Regions from separate parts of the Homo sapiens genome. Here region 2 is linked to region 1. The links are contacts of gene promoters, found by promoter capture Hi-C in human tissues and cell types (Jung and others, 2019). All regions are on one chromosome and are shown on one strand. The core of a region is centred on a gene start or on the middle of the fragment in contact, and the rest is flanking DNA. Distances in the headings are between cores, read along the strand shown.

Region 1 (4,865 bases), core at 1,507-4,006:
TGCGCCAGCATGCCCGGCTAATTTTTTTGTATTTTTAGTAGAGATGGGGTTTCGCCATGTTGACCATGCTGGTCTCGAACTCCTGACCTCAGGTGATCCGCCCGCTTCGGCCCCCCAAAGTGCTGGGATTACAGGCGTGAGCCTCCGCGCCCAGCCTGTTTGCCTCCCTTTTCTGATCAGCTTCCTCTGCTCACCTTTCATTTCTCCTTCCTCATAACTTCAGCTTGCATTTGGTCTCAGCTTCCTGTGGCCCTGACTTTATCTGACTCAAGTTGGCATTTGTGAAGGTAATAATCTAACAAGCTCCTCTCCGTTTTTCAGATCCACATCATGGTCCTATCATGTGGGGAACTGGCCTCTGGTCCAATGAGCAAAGATGGGTCCCACAAAATGTAGTTGCTTGGAGAGCAGGGCCTGACAGAAGGGGTGGGGAGGAGAGTGGCAGGCACTGAGGCCTCTCCTATTCTATTAATGAGCAAAGTGCCTTTTATTTTTGCCTCTCTTTGCTCCTGAATAATTTTTCTCATCCTTCATTTTAGGAAAGCCACTTATCTTCTTGATGCTTAGGGTTTCTAGAGACAAGGGATGTTGAAGCTGGAAGGAACTTCATAGCTCATCTTGGTCAGATCCCAGCATGTGCTCTGTATAACACTAGGCTCAAAAGATGCTTCATGAGAAAAAAAATCAAGATATTCCAGCATTTTCTTTGGATTTAAACTCACACCAGGCTCAAAAGATGCTTCATGAGAAAAAAAATCAAGATATTCCAGCATTTTCTTTGGATCTCAGCTCACACCAGGAGCATACTTCTCAGTGGTTCAATTTGCTTGGCAGGATCTCTGGTCTTCTGCTTGGATGGATCTCTGCAGGGTCCAGCGTCCTCTAAATTGGAGGCTCTGAATCAGGGATTCCTGAAAAGGCACAAGAGAGGCCCAAGCATGAACCTCTTGAAATTGTTTGCAAACTTCAGTCAGTGTTGTGTACATGTGCATGTGTGTGTGTTCCTGAGTGTCCATAGCTTTCATCAGATTCTTACAGGTAAATATCACCCGAGAGAATGGATAAGAACCACTGCTTTTTTTTTTTTTTGAGACAGAGTCTCACTCTGTCACCCAGGCTGGAATGCAGTGGCTCAGTCTTGGCTCACTGCAGCCTCTGGGTTCAAGTGATTCTTGTGCCTCAGCCTCCTGAGTAGCTGGGATTACAGGTTGCTCCACCATGCTGATTGATTTCTGTATTTTTAATAGAGATAGGGTTTTGCCATGTTGGCCAGGCTGGTCTTGAACTCCTGACTTCAAGTGATTCACCCGCTTGGGCCTCCCAAAGTGCTGGAATTATAGGCGTGAGCCATCACACCCAGCCAAGAACCACTGCTTTAAAGGGACATTGGTTGACTGTGCCTTCCTAAGGTAAAGGCCTTCTTGTTTTCTTCCAACTTAAACATTTTATCTGCTACACTCAATAACCATCGAGTATGTTTAAGAGAAAGTGCTTTATATAACAAAGCAGAAAGGCTCTTGATAATAACTTAGAGGCTTCATCCTTGCATTTTTCTCAAGATGAAAACGCTAACATAATGAGCTGTCAAGGTAGGTTCATCAATTGTAACAAATGGGCCACTCCAGTGGAGGATGTTGATCATGGGGGACGCTGTGCGTGCGTGGGGAGAGGGGATATATGACGTGTCCCTATACCTTCCGCTCAATTGTGCTGTGAACCTAAAACTGCTCTAAGAAATAAAGTCTATTAAAACAAGCAAACCAGCCAGCTGCAGTGGCTCACTCCTGTAATTCCAGCACTTTGGGAGGCCGAGGTGGGTAGATCGATTGAGCCCAGGAGTTTGTGAAACTCCCTCTCCACAAACAATTTTTGTAAAAATTAGCGGGGTGTGGTGGCACGTGCCTGTAGCCCCAGCTACTGGGGAGGCTGAGGTGGGAGGATTGTTTGAGCCTGGGAGGTTGTAGCTGCAATGAGCCATGATTACGCCACTGCACTCCAGCCTGGGTGACAGAGCAAGACCCTGTCTCAAAAAAAAAGTTAAACAACAACAAACCCAACAACCAACTAACCGAAACACTAAGAATCAGAGAAGTAAAATATAATTCGCTTCATCCAGACAGCTAGCCCGGTGAGGACTACAACCTTCCTCTCTTCCTTCTTCACTTCTTTGCTCTCTCTTTTTAAACCCACATCTTAGCAATTCCTCTGCTATTGGGTCATTAAATCGCCACCTCTAATTTTTTTTTCTAAGCATTTATTGAGGGCCAAGCACTGTGTTACACATCTCCTCATTAAAATGGTATAGCAACCTTTTCTGGTCGATATTATGATCCCATTTTTCAATTTTTACTTTTGAGTGAAGGACATTGATTCTTAGAGATTGTAAGGAACTTGCCCAAGGCTGCCGGCTGGTTAGTGGCAGAGCTGGGATGGGAAAGTCCGTATTTTCCACCGCGCTGTATTAGTGAGGGCTCTTTGTGTCACTTCTGTGCATAACTCCGCCCCAAGTTAAAAGGCTCGCTGCTCTCGACAGGTCCTCCTCCTCCTCCCGCTAGGTCCTCCTCCTCCTCCCGCCAGGTCCTCCTCCTCCTTCTCCTCCCGGGGCCCTGCCCTGCGGGTCTCACCTGCTGCTCCGCGGGGTCCCGGCGGGGGCCGGATAGCGCCCCCTGGCGGCAGGTGGGCGCCCGCGCAGCGCATGCTAATGAGCCCGCGGCGCCGCTCGCGGATTGGCTGGCGCGGATTCCAGCTGCTTTCCAAGTCAGCGGCGCCTAGTGAGAGTCAGGGGGGCCCGGCCCGCGCCCTCCCCGCCCAGCCGCCTCCCCGTCGACGCCCAGGGCTGGGGCGAGCCAGGCTGCCTTTCGAACTTGGGGGGCTTCTCCTCTTGTCTCCCACTGGTGCTCTGGCTGTGAATCCATCCAGGGGCCAGGATGACAATCCGACACCAAGGCCAGCAGTACAGGCCGAGGATGGCATTTCTCCAAAAGGTAACCCTGGCCCCTCACCTGGACCCTGGGAGGAGGGCGGGGGACCGCATCTGCGAAGCGTCCGAGGACAAGAGGGGCAGGAGTGGAGAGCACCCCTTTGGGTCGATTTGTGCTGCTCGATTTTATTAAGTGACTTCTTTGCTGTGTGTGTCGATATTGATGGCTATAATAATTAGGTTTTCGTGTGCCCTGCCTGTAGTGGAGAATCTGAAGCCAGCGCTGATGGTCTGCGGGAGGTGAAAACAACCTGTTACTCGGGAGAGGCAGGTTCAGTTCAGGCTGTGGCAGATTTGAGACAGCCTGCTGATATTGTTGTAAGACGACCAGATGTGACATTGCCATTTTTGCCTTTTTTTTCTGATCCCAAACTGCACTATTTTAAAGTGTGTGTGTGTGTACACATAGACCATGAAAACGGGGTGATTTGTAGGATAAAGGGCCACCCCATTTACAATGCCCTGAGAGCCCTCATTTGAGTGTGTCTATCTGTGCATCTCCTGCTGTCTGCGCTGGCGGCAGAAGTCCCAACCTTTTCGCTTCCCTTGCGAATGCTTTCCCAGACAAAGTGACCGGGCACAGGGTGTGCACACAGGATGGACATGTGGGAGGTGGAATGCACCTGTGGGGTGATGTGTTTGGGGACAAAGTGGTTCATTTAGTTCTGAGCTTCTGGTATAATCACTGTCCGATGAGATCTACAGAGGATTAGGTCCCGGGTCACATCTTTGTCCTTCCTCCCACCCGTAGCCACTTTTCACAGCGTAGTGTCCATCTTCTTAGGCTTATCTTGTTGAGTAGAATTAGTTGAATGTTTTGTGACAAGCTGAGCTCTCCCTGAGCCCCTGGAGCTCAGCAAATTTGTATAGTCAGTGACCGCTGTCCTGATTTGCCCAGGACTTTCAATGCTAAAACCTGGACAGTCCTGGGGACCCCGAGACGGTCGCATTTGGTCCACCTGTTTCAAGATGCTCGTGCTCATCTTCCGGGTAGCAGAGGTGTGGGTATCATCTGTAAAGCAGACAGGCTGAATGTTGTCTCACTCAGAAAGAACCCTGAGAGCCTGTATTGCAGATACCAGTTACTAAAAGCAGAAGAAACTGCCTAAGTCGGCTATCTCAAAGCCACACATCATCTTCCAGGATTTATCCTAGGACTGTCTCCTCCCAGGCAGGACAGCTCTGGCTTGGGGGCTCAGAGGGTAATTGTCAAGAGATAAATTCAGTTTGTTTATTGAATCTCTGGCATTCTTTTCCATCATGACTCTTCTCTGGTAGATTCTCCTCTCCTTACCTTGGTCTTCTGACTAGTGTCTTGGTCTCTAGTTTCTCTCCTCCACCCCAGGCTTCCCTCCTCCTCCCCAGCCACCCCTCCTCCACCCCAGCATCCCCTCCTCCACCCCAGCATCCCCTCCTCCACCCAAACTCTCCCTCCTCCACCTTAGTCTCCCTTCCTCCACCCTAACCTCTCCCTCCTCCATTCCAGCTCCCCTCCTCCACCCCAGCTCTCCCCCCTCCACCCCACCTTTCCCTCCTCCACCCCAGGTCCTCTTCCTCCACCCTGTCTTCCCCTTCCTCTACCCCATCCTCCTCCTCCTCCCCAGCCTTCTCCTCCTCCATCCTAACTTACCTCTCCTCTACCCTAACCTCCCCCTCCTGCATCCCAGCTCCCCATCTTCCACCCCGGTCTCCCCTCCTCCATGACAGCTTTCCTACACACACTGTTTTTTTCCCCCAAATCAATGGTGACCTCCTTGACCTGAAACGCTCCACTGGCTTCCCACATTCCCAGCATAAAGTCCAACCTTCCCCTGAGCAGCCTGGTTACCCAGGATTCCGCTCCCACCATCTTCCTGGCTTTGCCTCCTGCCTGCCTTCCACACCT
Region 2 (4,865 bases), core at 1,256-3,755, 150 kb before region 1:
TGCCCAATAACCAGGCATGGCAAAAGCCCAAAGGCAAAAACACAAAGCCCTGACATTTAACAGGTTCTTTTTTTGCTAAGAAACCAGCGCTGGAGACAAGTACTTGTGATATATCCTCGTGGCTGGACTTGTTGGTCACAAGTTCTAATTATGGAAATGCCCTCTGACAAAAGAGCCTGTTGATGTGAGTCACTATGGGTGGTTTAACTCTCTAGGCCTGGGCTGCTCCTAAGAATCATTTGCAGATACATCTATCTACCTAGCTATTTTTTTTTTTTTGAGACAGGGTCTCACTCTGTCACCCACTCTTCACTCTGTGAAGTGCAGTGGCACAATCAGGGCTCACTTTATCCTTGACCTCCTGGGCTCAAGCATTCTTTCCACCTCAGCCCTCTGAGCAGCTAAGACTATAGGTGTGTGCCACCATGCCGAGCTAATTTTTTTATTCTTGTTTTGAATTGTAGTATAGATGTCTCACTATATTATCCAGGCTGGCCTTGAATTCCTGAGCTCAAGCAGTCCTCCCACCTCGGCCTCCCAAAGTGCTGGGATTACAGGCATGAGCCACCGCACCCGGCCCATAAGATACATATGTTTTTTTTAAAATAATGCAGTGAGTTGTTTTGTTTTGGTTTTTGTGTTTTTTTAGAGACAAGGTGACATTCTGTTGCCCAGGCTGTGCTCTCACAGCTCACTGCCGCCTTGACCTCCTGGGTTCAGGCAATCCTTTCACCCCAGCCTCCACGTAGCTGGGACTACAGGCATATGCCACCACACCCTGGTTAATCTTAATTTTTTTTTTTAGAGATGGAGTCTTGCTATGTTGCCCAGTCTGGTCTTGAGTTCCTGGACTCCAGTGATCCACCCCCCTCAGCCTCCCAAAGTGCACCACCATGCCCAGTTAATTTTGTATTTTTAGTAGAGACAGGGTTTTTCCATGTGGTCAGGCTGGTCTCAAACTCCTGACCTCAGGTGATCTGCCTACCTTGGCCTCCCAAAGTGCTGGGATTACAAGTGTGAGCCACTGAGCCTGGTCGCTACTTGTTCTTATTGTGCATTTATATCCTGAAGAAATGGAATCTGCCATTTGCTGTAGCAGCGATCCAGAAAAACAAAGTGTAGTTGTTGGAATAAAACACAACTAACTGACATTGAGTGTCACCTGGGGGTGACCCAGCACAGCAAGAATGGATCAGCTTAAGCAGGTGTGGTGGCATGCACCTGTGGTCCCAGCTACTTAGGAGGCTGAAGTGGGAGGATCACCTGGCCCAGGAGAACGAGGCTGCGGTAAGCCAAGATCATGCCACTGCACTCCAGCCTGGGCAACAGAGCAAGATCCTGTCTCAAAAAAAAAAAAAAAGAATCAAAGAATGGATCAGCCTCATATCATCCAAGCTCATAGAGACAATGATGTAGAAAAACCCCAATGGCTTTGTATTGAATCGTCACCTTCAGAGGGCTGGGGACATAGGTTCATAGATAGTACCTTCACTCCCGGGAGGCACGGGAAGACAATTCCTTTTTGGTTTTTTTTTGAGACAGAGTTTCACTCTTGCCACCCAGGCTGGAGTGCAGTGGTGCAGTCTCAGCTCACTGCAACCTCTGCCTCCTGGGTTCAAGTGCTTCTCCTGCCTTAGCCTCCCAAGTAGCTAGCATTATAAGTGCCCATCACCACACCCAGTTAATTTCTGTATTTTTAGTAGAGACGGGGTTTCTCCATGTTGGCCAGGGTGGTCTCGAACTCCTGACCTCAGGTGATCCACCCACGTTGGCCTCCCGAAGTGCTGGGATTACAGGCATGAGCCACCACGCCCGGCCGGGAAGCCAATTTATAACAAGCTTTCTTGGTAAACATGGGTAATTAGTTGATGACCCTAATGGTCCCTACCCCTCAAAGTTTGGTGCATCCTCTTTCTCTCTCCCAGCCGTGTGAGGACACAACATGAAGTTGGTCATCTCAGGACCAGGAAGAGAGCCCTCCCCAGAACCCAACTATACTTGCACTTGACTTTGGACTTCCTAGCCTCTGCTGTGAGTGATGAATGCTTGTTGTGTAATCCACCCAGCCTATGATACTCTGTGGTAGCAGCCCAAGCTGACTAAGACACTTGGCAAGTGCATCTCCACAATAAGATCCAAGCCATCTCAGCCTGGAAGTTGATGCTTCCAGATGGCATTCAGGAGAATGACCAAAGTTTGTCTCTCTTTTTTTTGAGACAGAGTCTTGCTCTGGCTGGAGTGCAATGGTGCGATCTCAGCTCACTGCAACCTCCGCTCCCTGGGTTCAATAAATTTCTTGTGCCTCAGCCTCCCGAGTAGCTGGGATTACAGGCATGTGCCACCACACCCAGCTAATTTTTGTGTTTTTAGTAGAGATGGGGTTTCTCCATGTTGGCCAGGCTGGTCTCAAACTCCTGGCTTCAAGCGATCCACCCACCTCAGCCTCCCAAAGTGCTGGGATTATAGGCATGAACCACCACACCGAGCCCAAAGTTTTTCTCTTTGACCCTTCATTTTGTATTGTTGATCAATCTCCTCACCTTTTTTTTTTTTTTTGAGATAGGGTCTTGCTCTGTCACCCAGGCTCAAGTGCAGTGGCATGATCACAGCTTATTGTAGCCTCAAAGTCCCAAACTCAAGCAATCCTCCTGCTTTAGCCTCCTGAGTAGCTGGGACTACAGACGTAGGCCACCACACCCAGATAATTTTTATTTTTTTGTAGAGATGGGGTCTCATTATGTTGCCCAGGCTGCTCTCATACTCCTGGGCTCAAGTGATCCTCCAACCTTGGCCTCTCAAAGCACTGGGATTATAGGCGTGAGACATCACGCCCGGCCCTAACCCCCTTTCTGATTGACATGTTCTTAAGGTACCTTACAAGAGGTTAGAAGTGTTTTTATAAATATACCTTTTTTTTTTTTTTTTTTACAAACTTCAGTTGTAACCAAATCTTGCTAAAGAACTCATTCTGATCTCTTAAGGTAACTTTACATTTCTTTACATTAGAACTTTATATTTCTTCTAATCCATATGCATTGGTTTTACAGTTTTACCGTTTTGTAATTGCCAAAACAATACAGGATTCTCAGTCACATCGGAATTTCAGATGAACAATGAGTAATTTTTTAGTATAAGCATGTCCCATAAATTTCATGGGATATATTTACATTAAAAGTGATTGGTTGTTCATTTGAAATTCTAGTTAACTAAGCACCCTGTATTTTTATTTGTAAAACCTGGCCACCCACTCTCCAAGGGAAATACTAGTTCCCTATTTCCAAATTGGTGGAGGTGGTGGTGACCTCATGATTGCTCATATAACCTATCCACAGTTTCAAGAAGGAAAGAAAGGTAATTCTGTATGCCAAAAAGACACAAACCACACAAATAGCAAATATGTCCCCATGCAAGGCACAGTGCTGGATGACTCATGGAGAGTGATGTCTGGTCAAACACAAGCCCTCGGGCACGATGGCTCATGCCTGTTATCCCAGCACTTTGGGAGGCTGAGGCAGGTGGATCACGTGAGCCCAGGAATTTGAGACCAACCTGGACAACATGGGAGAAACCCCTCTCTACTAAAAAAAATACAAGAAAACTAGCCAAGCATAGTGGCACATTCCTCAGGGCGGGAGGCTGAGGTGGGAGGATCACTTGAGCCCAGGAGCCAGGAGATCCAGGCTGCAGTGAGCCATGGTCACACCACTGCACTCCAGCCTGGACGACAAAGTGAGACCCAGTCTCAAAAAAAAATTAAAATTAAAAAATAATAAAACAAAAATGTAAAAAAAATACATATATATGTTGCTCTACAGATTAGATGCATTCAGAGAAATTTACCTGAAAATCAATTTCTGAAAAGTAAATTTATTTCCCTAGTTTTCAACAAAAAATAAGCATACTAGGCTTTCAACCTCAATCTGCCAATTTATCATTTGGTCCTTGGCAAGTGTATAAACTAAAAACTTCATTGAGACTCAGCTTTCTCATCTGTCAAACATAGCCCAAATGGCTACCTTTCCCTCCAGCCAATGCCAGAGGAAGTGCTTGGTGAGGAAGGGGTAAGGAGCATGACAGGCCCTCCAAGATGGCCCCATGGCGTCTGTGATCTCCCTGTTCCCTTCTCAATAAAATGAATGTAGATCAAGCAACTCCTAGGTGTGAGCCATTCTGAAAGGGGCTGTGGGATAGAACACATCCCTGCATCCCTTGAAGAGTTAGACTCCACCTGGAAAGATAGGACATGTGTAGTCATCTGTTACAGTGGTAGCCCCCAGTGAAATGCACCTCTTAGTATTCATGCCCTCTATAGATCACTCAACTGAATCTGGGCTGCCTGAAACAATAGAATGTGACAGAGGTGATACTGTGCCAGCTGTGCCAAGGGGCACACGTGGAGGGGCTCACTTCAGGGTGCTGGATGAAGAACAGGGCAGGAGGCCAGACACAGTAGCTCACGCCTGTAATCCCAGCACTGTGGGAGGCCGAGGCGGGTGGATCACCTGGGGTCAGGAGTTTGAGACCAGCCTGGCCAACATCTCTATTAAAAATACAAAAATTAGCCACGCATGGTGGTGGGCACCCATAATCCCAGCTACTCGGGAGGCTGAGGCAGGAGAACCCCTTGAACCCAGGAGGTGGAGGTTGCAGTGAGCCGAGGTCGCACCACTGCACTCCAGCCTGGACAACAAGAGTGAGACTCCATCCCAAAAAACAAAACAAAACAAAACAAAAAAACAGGACAGGGACAGATGCTGGGCTTTGAAGACTGCACAAGCTCTAGGGCTACGCCTTAGGAAATCTTGGTGGATTCCACATTTGTAGTCCTGGGAACCCTGAGCCACCAGGTAACAAGCCTTACCTTC

What was found. Contacts are between HindIII fragments. The study calls those that stand out against the background at their distance.
Region 2: a contact is called between a fragment that was not itself captured here and the fragment with the promoter of RGS9 in region 1, in 3 of the 25 tissues and cell types used here (adrenal gland, hippocampus and liver).

The regions. Positions count from the first base shown.
Region 1 is chr17:65,134,614-65,139,478 of GRCh38, forward strand. It overlaps RGS9 (regulator of G protein signaling 9), which reads left to right and starts at 2,757. Exons shown (of 19, transcript NM_003835.4): 1 at 2,757-2,984. The coding sequence starts at 2,928. RefSeq lists a silencer at 2,447-2,946. The HindIII fragment of the contact is 16,688 bases long and covers 1-4,865 here.
Region 2 is chr17:64,989,107-64,993,971 of GRCh38, forward strand. No RefSeq gene overlaps it. Among named protein-coding and RNA genes, the nearest start is that of GNA13, 65 kb to the right of the region's middle. The HindIII fragment of the contact is 5,935 bases long and covers 1-4,865 here.